3 separate regions of the Homo sapiens genome follow, and regions 1 and 3 are each linked to region 2. Evidence: promoter capture Hi-C in 16 types of primary human blood cells and fetal thymus (Javierre and others, 2016). All regions are on one chromosome and are shown on one strand. The core of a region is centred on a gene start or on the middle of the fragment in contact, and the rest is flanking DNA. Distances in the headings are between cores, read along the strand shown.

Evidence for each region. The method cuts DNA at HindIII sites, captures the fragments that hold promoters and counts their contacts. A CHiCAGO score of 5 or more calls a contact.
Region 1: a contact is called between a fragment that was not itself captured here and the fragment with the promoter of ZNF397 in region 2, in 5 of 17 cell types (total CD8 T cells, megakaryocytes, naive CD4 T cells and 2 more). The highest score is 7.2, in total CD8 T cells.
Region 3: a contact is called between a fragment that was not itself captured here and the fragment with the promoter of ZNF397 in region 2, in 2 of 17 cell types (total CD8 T cells and total B cells). The highest score is 5.3, in total CD8 T cells.

What each region holds. Positions count from the first base shown.
Region 1 is chr18:35,320,709-35,323,814 of GRCh38, reverse strand. No RefSeq gene overlaps it. Among named protein-coding and RNA genes, the nearest start is that of ZNF24, 22 kb to the left of the region's middle. The HindIII fragment of the contact is 329 bases long and covers 1,375-1,703 here.
Region 2 is chr18:35,239,034-35,242,306 of GRCh38, reverse strand. ZNF397 (zinc finger protein 397) reads right to left here and starts at 1,273. Exons shown (of 4, transcript NM_001135178.3): 1 at 1,198-1,273. RefSeq lists a silencer at 1,092-1,221 and enhancers at 1,011-1,536, 1,482-1,591. The HindIII fragment of the contact is 1,449 bases long and covers 691-2,139 here.
Region 3 is chr18:35,120,313-35,123,231 of GRCh38, reverse strand. The region is part of intron 4 of MAPRE2 (microtubule associated protein RP/EB family member 2); the gene reads right to left. Among named protein-coding and RNA genes, the nearest start is that of MAPRE2, 80 kb to the right of the region's middle. The HindIII fragment of the contact is 768 bases long and covers 942-1,709 here.

The DNA.
Region 1 (3,106 bases), core at 290-2,789, 81 kb before region 2:
ATACATCCGTGAGGCCATTTTATTAATTAAATTGTCAACCTACACTGTAATTCCTTAGAATTTTTTTTCTGTTTGTTCTATATTTTACAAATGTGAGAGTTGTTTCAGTGTGTAGAGGTCATGATAATAAATACATAAAAGAAAATATTGTGAGAATTGTGAAAGTCTCCTACTAGGATTACAGAATTATCACTTATTTTAGTTTTGTCAATTTAAGCTTTATATATTTTGGAGTGAAATTATTGTTATGTACATGAGGTTCTTGGCTCTCAATAGAAATTAGTAATAGAAATGAAGATGAGGCCAGGCAAACTTTTCCTAGACAAGGGTTATTAAGACTTACCCCCAGAAAGGCTGGGCATAAGGAAGACAGAAAAGGAAAAAGTTCTTGGGCTGACTCCCCAAGGGGAGTGCATCGTGATGTCTTAAGGAGGGTGGCATGCAGAATTCATGAGGTAGGTGAGTGTCACTATATGTGCAGGGTAGAATGCAGTGTGCAGATACAGTAAGGAATCTTGGTAACATATATGACCATAAAAGGGCAGATAAGCCCCTCCTTGGGCAGGAATTTTAGTATTATAATGAAGCATGGGTCAAAGATTGGTCATTCTTCTGGTTTTGTGCACATGTAGGTGATAGGGTTAACTCCTTTGAGTGAAATTCATGTTTGGGTGTTGCTTATTGTGGTTTTTCAAGGTCCCACAATCAGCAGATATGGTGCCTTGAGTAAGATTTATGGTGGGATGCTGCTTATCTTAGTTTCTTCAGAGAGTTTGCAAGGTCTGGTCAGCAGGTATGTATGAAAAAATACATTGGTGGGGGCTGGCTGAGTCCCACCTCTACCCTGTTTCATTCCCCCTGAGAGATTTTACCCTCCTTATTCTTAAGGAGAAGGGGATGGAGGTCTTGTCTTCTGGAGCTGCTTCTTCCTGAACTGGACTGTTGTCGTTGCCTAACATTGGAGGTTGTAAAAATCTCTTGCTGACTGATCTAATGATTTATAGGGACTTAGATACTCCTAGTATAGTATATGTTGTTCCATCATCAGCTTGACTGGGGACTGTTGAAGCCTGGAAGATACGAGCTTCAACCATCCACACCCTTGTTGAGTCAGCTTCCTAGTCCTGAGAATAGATTAGTTTAAACAACTGTGTCTCATTCCAGGAGGTGGCATTGCAAACAGGCTGAGCCTCTATATTAATGAAGGCAAACAGGTTTTTAATAAGAGGCATTTTTATGGAAACAGAAGAAAAACAAAGGTTAATGTTGGACACAATGTATCTAGATGTTAGACTCAAAATATCTTTAGTTACCAGGGAGGAAGGTGGTGGCAACCTGACACATTTTTCTTGCCTATATCATGAGAAATAAGCTTCAGCTTGCAGAGCCTCAGGAACATGGGGGCAGCAATTTCATTGAGTCCTAGTCTGAAAAATAGAAGAAAATTTTGAAAATGTTGGTTTGGAGCCCAGAAAGAATTGAAGAGCCAATCCAAATTGTAGAAAATAATAAAAACTCAAAAACAACAGACAAGAACTGGAATCCAATAACTGGTGCACTATACATTTTCTTTTTAAACAAAACGTAATCTTCCTGTCCAGTCTCCCAGTTTTACCAAAGATAAATCATGCTGGAATATGGTATAACAAGACTAAAACTTATCTTGCGGTAAGTTTTAGTCTTTTTTTTTTGAGACAGAAGCTTGCTCTGTCACTCAGGCTGGAGTGCAGTGTGCACTCTCAGCTCACTGCAACCACTGCCTCCTGGGTTCAAGTGATTCTCGTGCCTCAGCCTCCCGAGTATCTGGGATTGCAGATGTGCATCACCATGCCCAGCTAATTTTTGTATTTTTAGTAGAGAAAAGGTTTTTTTTTCCATGTTGGCCAGGCTGGTCTCGAAGTCCTGGCCTCGGGTGATCCACCTGCCTTGGCCTCCCAAAGTGCTAGAATTATAGGTGTGAGCCACCATGTCTGGCTGTTTTATCTTATTATACTTGCTGTGATTATTTGCATAAAGTACAGCAAGAATAATCATTTGCCATGTAGTATCCTTTTTTTAAAAAAAACTGGTTTTGCTGAAACTTCCATAGGAATCTCTGGTTAGACTTTTTAAAGCCTTGAGCCCCACTGTGGATGTATTTGCGCCTACAAATACTTGTATGAATTGGGTGAACTCCTTTCCTCTACAAGTCTTATAATAGTTTGGGGGCTCCTGGACCTGTCAGAAAGTGACATTCTTTTCCACAGGTCAGGAACCCTGTGCAGGGACTGCATAGACAAAGTATGAGACCATTTCCTCCAAGGAGCTTTTATTGGTTCTCTAAGTAATCCCCAATTTTTAAAAGCAATCTGAAAGCATGCTATTCCAGTCAAAGCCTTAAAACAAAAAGTGTCTCTAATTATGCCTGTTACAAAAGAAGACAGATTCTTATTGCACTTAGGCAAACAACTATATTGCTGCAAGTTAGGAATACTCACAAATAATTTTCAAATTCTGGAGAAGTTAACTAGACAGAAAGAAATAATGCCCCAAATTTTGCTTACAGAAGTCTACTTTACTCAGTTGTTAAAAGGTATAAATAGCTTAACAGAGAAAAAAGTTTTCTTGATTCTGAAAAACTTAGAAGGATCAGCAATGTTTTAAATAAAAAGGTCTAAGAAAGATTATTTCAGTCTTTTTTTGTTGTTTTGAAACAGGGTCTGGCTCTGTCACTCAGACTAGAGTGCAGTGGTGTGATCACAGCTCACTGCATCCTCATCCTCCCGGGCTAGAGCAACCCTCCTACTTTAGCCTCTTGAGTAGCTGGGACCACAGGCATATGCCACTATACCCAGCTTATTGATTGATTGATTGTAGAGACAGGGTCTCCCTATATTGCCCAGGCTGGTCTCAAACTCCTGGGCTCAAGTGATCCTCTGGCCTTAGCCGCCCAAAGTGCTGGGATTACAGGCATGAGCTACTGTGCCTGGCCTATTTCAGTCTTCTACTAGGTAAGTCCATGCAATTAACTCTTGTTCTGCCCAATATTGGGCCAATAGTCCGCATGAACACATTGGCTCTCTATGCAAGTCCTGGAAGTTTTTTTTTTTTTTTTCTATTTCAATGG
Region 2 (3,273 bases), core at 24-2,523:
TATATTGAAAGGGAGTAGATTTGGGGCTATCACTAAATAAAACAATAATGTGATGATAAACTAAAAATCATTAACCTCAATTAGTGTCTCCCATTATGAAGAATTCCTACCACTAATGTTAGAAAAAACTATTTTAGAAGCCTAAGAATGTGAATGCAACATTAACATCAATCACATAGTGAGAAAATTTCCTTTCCAATTCTTTCAATTCTGATTGTATCAAGGAGAAAAGTCTATCTTTAACATGTATGTATTAATAAAACTTGTAGAACTCTCTTTTAAATAAAATACAGGCTTCAGAATCAGACTTCCAAGAGTAAAAATATTTAGGCAGAATTTAGTAATACTGATTTTAAACATTTATTTTTACTTACTTTCTATCTAAAGCAAGTAATGTTGATTTTCATTTAAGGCAGTAATAACGTTTTTTTAAAAGTTCACATTAAACATGAGTTGATGTAAATATTGGATATTTGTCATTTGATCGCATTTGGTGTTTACCGAATTACTTCAACAAACACTGAGGCACTTACTGAGCATTAAGATTTTTGCTTATGAATAAACGAGTCTACAGAGGAATTGACCAAGAACCAAGACGTATCTGTAAAATGCTTACCATGTGTTCAAAAACATGATAGGTATCACATACACAAAAGCAGCAAAGAGATCCGTATCAGTTCTGAAAAAGCTTAGAATATCCCAAGACTAAAAATGTTCAAAAGCAAAATATGGTAACAAATAGGTATTAAATGTTGTGACACAGACCAAACTTGACCTGCTTTTAGGATGGCGAGATATCGATAGGAATGTATGCCCTTAGTTTGTCAGGACAGATGAGTAAAATTCATTCCTCACACTACGGTTAACGTTAAGAGATGAATTAAAATATTTAGCCTACAAATTTAAGGTTTAACCAGTCCGGCCGCACTAACTAACTAACTAACTAGCCCTTCTATTTTTATATCCTTGGTTAAACCGCAGCATTTACGAAGTCACGGGGTCAGCGGAACTGCGTTTTCCTTTGGAAAGCAGGAGTTTGAGTGCTGGCCTCCTCTGAGTTCCCCAGTCGCTTGGAGACGCCGCGCGGGCCAAAGGGCCGCGACCTGGGGATGGGCAGGCCGAGGAGCGGAGCTCCTCCACTGTCCGGCGCGCGCTCCCAACCCCACCTCCCTCTTCCTAGGGGCCCACGTCCCTCACCGCGAAGCCCAGGAGCGGCCAGGAAATGAGCCACCCACCCCGAGCTGCAAGCCACAAAGACCGGAAGTGCGCGTACGCAGTGTTCCGCTCTCGCGCCCTTCGGGTCCTCCGCCGCCCCGCCCCTTGCTCTGAGGTAGCCAATCAGAGCCGCGGGCTCTACAGTTTCCACCGCCTTCTCCCGGTAGCCGCTAGCCCGGCGGAATCTCCAAGGCCAGGGGAGGGTGCGCTAGGAGTCAGGGGTCCTTGTGAGCGGCGGCACCTGGAGGGTCCCGCATCTCGCCTGGGCCGTTCCCACCCTGGCTTTCTCCTGGCACCACCCATCATTGTTGGTCTCAAGTAATTCCCGAATCTCACTCCCAGTTTTCCATTAAAATATTCAGATTTTCGGCCGGGCGCGGTGGCCGAGGCGGGCGGATCACGAGGTCAGGAGATAGAGACCATCCTGGCTAACACGGTGAAACCCCGTCTCTACTAAAAATACAAAAATTTAGCTGGGCATGTTGGCGGGCGCCTGTAGTTCCAGCTACTCGGGAGGCTGAGGCAGGAGAATGGCGTGAACCCGGGAGGCGGAGCTTGCAGTGAACTGAGATGTGCTGCACTCCAGCCTGGGCGACAGAGCGAGACTCTGTCTCAAAAAAAAAAAAAAAAAAAAAACCTCAGATTTTCCTGTGATTCCAGTTCTTTTCCGACAAAAGTAAATGTAAGGATGAATAGGCTGAACAAAAACTAACAGTCACTTATATTGCTTTTGCCTATGAGTATCACTGGAGCCTTACAACAGTTCTGTGCTGTGGCTATATAATCCCAAATTTACAGCCGTAGACATCGCCCAAAGTCAGGCAACTTGTGACCAGGGACGTCCACGTCCCCATAGTTCAAGGAGACTGGTATCGTAGACTCCTGGAGCCTATCTTAGGGTCTTCCCGTTCTTCAGTGGAAGCTTGCTGGTATTGTCTCACTGTTTAAATTTTTCTTTGGCTATTTAGTCGGTGAAAAATGATGCCTCATGTTTCAACTTTGTGAGCTTAAGATAGTCCCCCTTCATGTTTACTGACCATTTATGGTTCTTCAGAGATGGCTTTTCCCATTTAAAAAATTAAGGGAGTAAGATTTTTCTTTTTTATTTGTGAGAATTTTTTGCTTATTAAGGATAGCAACTCGTTTGTTGCAAATCGTTTCCCATTTATTTGTATTTATTTTTAAAACGTTACATTTTACATGTTTAAATGTTACATATTTTTAAAATGTTATATTAAAAAAGTACACAGGATAATAACAAAGCGATACATACATACATAGAAACAAATTCTCCTTTGTGAGCCAAGACTTAAAACACATATTTGAGAAAAATGTTCGTTAGCATTCAAAGCTATTAGTGACTCACTAAATAATTTTATCATTGTGAAATGACTACAGCAATTTTACAAAGCAAAAAACCAAATAATATTAATTTGTTTATAAATTATCAATTGCTTCATAATGAACCACTTCAAGACTTAGTGACTAAAAACAGCAGATGTTTTATTGCTCACAGTTCTGTTGCCAGGAATTCAGGAAGGGCTTAGCGGAGATGGCTAGTCTGCTTTATGATGTGTCAGCTATCTTCACTTAACTGGGGTGGAAGGTCCAAGATGGCTTCACTCAAATTGCTGAAGTCTTGGTGTTGCCTCTTGGTTGAAGTTACTTGATTCTTCTCCACAAGGCCTCTCTCCATTCAGGAGTTTAGCCTAAGCTTTCTTACATGGTGACTGGCTTCCAAGAGAGTTAAGGAGGAGGAAAGATGCTAATTCTCTTAAAGCCTGAGTCTGGAACTGGCATTATATTTTTCTGCAGTATTCCATGACAGAAGGACTAGAATGGTGGAAAAGGGAAATAGACATTAAGCAGCTTGATCATAGGAGGAAATTTTGGCAGTTATCTTTGCATCCAACCTAACACACCTTGTTATATTGAGAAACCTACTATGTAAGAGTGAAACTATTGAAAGAGAGAAGGCATATCAGTTGAAATGCTTTTGGCTGCAGTAACAGGAACCTTACTAAATGTCCTTATTGTTCAAGCCTTTTAAAAACAAAT
Region 3 (2,919 bases), core at 76-2,575, 120 kb after region 2:
GGTATTATCAAACAGAGCTTGAAAAAAAAACTGAAATGTTTGATAAGATGTAGAAGGGGTCATGGCAAGCCAAACCCCTGGGCAAAGCCACGTTATCGGGGAAGAGCAACTATGAAGAAGCAGAGGACACTGGCCAGGAGAGCAGTGAGACACGCAGGGAGAATCCCCGGCCGCTGGAGGCGCTCAGCATGGCTCACGGCAGGGAGGGAGGGCACAGCTGCTGCAGTTACTGATGCTCTCCCCCTTCTAGCCACACACAGCCACTTGGGGAAACAGGTTTTGTTTTGTTTTCTTCCCCTGAGGAAATATCCCTTTCTGTTAACAGAGCCCAACTTCAACCTGCCTGTGTGGCTTGGACTCACCAAGCTGTGGTTCAGCAGAGTCTCGGCCCTAAAATGGCATCTGTGCTCACGAATCAGGCAAAGGTCAGGTGGTGGCCTAGGGCCCCAGGGCTTTCCCACTGGCACACACACGTGCACCTCCTGGATCCCTTTGAGATGAGAGAGGTGCAGGCGATGAAAATCAGGCTCGGCAACCTCTGCTGCTCCACCACCTACACACATGTGGGATGGAAGCACCGCTTCTGCCCCACCGTTAAGCCTCACTAACGGGGACACAGTGCAGGCTGAGTGAAGGAAGAAATGGAAAAAAAATTCTAAACATTTAATAATCAATCACTTAGGTAACTAGTATTTGATATTTAAAATGAGAGGGATCTTGAAATTCTATTGTTCGGAGAAAAACTGATAACAGGAAAATAAATGATGCATGAGGATATGTGAGATCAGGCCTACTTAACTACATTTTTACCTTCAAATGAATAAATGTGAAGAAATTAAAGAACAGGAAAGGCATGGGAAAGATCTTAGTATCTTCCGAGGTTTGGGTAAAACAACAACTACAACAAAAAAACCCCATAATTAACAGTTAAACTAAAAGCTTGTTTTCAAATAAATGTAAAGTGGGCTCATTAAATCATCCCAAGCTGCAATTTGAAACGGAAGTAATTTACCCCTCACAGCTGTCACATGATTAAGAAATACTAAATGTATAAAAATAAAAATGAAACCTTTTGTCCTCATTATATTCAATGATTTCATGTTTTCTTTTTCAGAATAAATAAAAGACAATATCCTAACATACAGCATAACTCTTTAGAGTTAAGAACTTGTTTTTGTTTATTTGCTTTCTAGGTCTCGCTGCCTTCTAACAACCACACTCTAAAATTTCTGGGGCTGCCAGATACTCTTTCCCCCTTACCTGGGCACTAGAACAAGAATGTTCTCACAAAACTGCACAGTTATCAATGTCATAAACTTAACATTGATAGAATACTTTTATGTGAGCTACCATCTGTATTCCAATCTCGTAAACTGCTCCAAACATGTCTCTGACAGCATCCAATCCTGGTTTTAGATACTGAAGTCCTCAATAGCTATCTTCTTGCTTCCCAGAATGCCCCACTCCATCAGTGATTTGACTTCTGTACCTTTACCAGGCCTCTTGGCTCAATGATGCTTATGTGGAAAACATTTACATAACAGCTTTTACAGAGAGTGCACCTACTTTGGCTGTAATACAGATATAGATTTTTTTTTCTTGCAGCTGATTCAAACATTTCAAATTTTTTTTCAAGCTGCATTTGAGGATGTCCTGAGAACATAATTAGTAGTGGCCCTGTTTACAAGTAACCATTTTGCCCTCAAGCTTTTCTACCTCCCTAATTTTACCTTTCAAAATAAAAAGGAATCTCAGAAGCAGAGGAAAAAAGCATAAATTCTGTCTAAGTCCCTGTAATTCTCTGAATTTGCTCACTGGACATGATTTACAATGCTAGTCTTTGAGCAGTTGTGTCTTAATTAATGCCTTTAGGATTTGGGGGTATAAATATGATTCTGACATTTTAACCATAGTTGTAAAAAAATTCGGAGTGGTCAGATTCACTGCCTTAGTGAAGCCAGGGCATTACCGTGTCTAATGTCAATAACTAGTAGCTTGCTTAATGTTTATGGAAAACGCTGCAACAAGTTGGGCATATGAGGCCCAATGGATTCAGAAGGATGAAGCAAATCAAAGCACTGGACTTGGCTTTATCCTTCATGGCCAAGACTCTGCTGGAATTTAGAAATTCTTTTCACATAATCTGCCATATTATTCCTTTTGCCAAAGTCATAAACAGAGGAGATAAAAATATGACATTAATACTGTTGACAAGAGACATTAAAAACATGAGCGTGTGCACACACACATGCAGGCGGCCACCACTCTTCTGGTCATGGTCAATCCCAATTTTTCTCTACTTTGAGAGCCCCTTCCCTTCCCAAACCATCCCCCTAGCCGTTCTCACTCAATTGAAGAAAACCCAGAGCTGAACAACTATGGCAGAAGATACACTGCATCTGTATTGATTCATTGTGGATGGATTTGATATTACTTTCTTATCCCCTGCACCTTGGCAAAGAGATTATATTTTTTAACAGATGATGAGCTTGGTTAAAAAAAAAAGTAATGTCATTGCTGGAGAAAGGGTATGGGCTAGACTGATGAGGAGAGTGAATTCCATAGGAAGAGGACTTCCTCAGTAACTGAACTGACACCACAGCCCTCATACTGCAATAGGGTTGCCAGTCCCTACAGAATTCTGATTACTGCAAATTCAAGTTATATTGACCTAGTCTTTCCTTCAAAACTGCCTCCGTACTGTCACTTTGTAGATTCTGTAATCTGCTCTGAGCTGAGGGCAAAAAAGCACCTCAGTGGACAGATTTCCATCCAAATGAAACTTTAACAGGGTTCTGGGATGCTCTGATTCATGAGATCACTAGGAGGCTGGTTTTTTAATTCTGAAATTGGCAGTTTACAGCCCTTAGGACTTCTGTTCTGACCAGTGCAGCCAGTGGTGAGGTCTGCAGCTCTTCC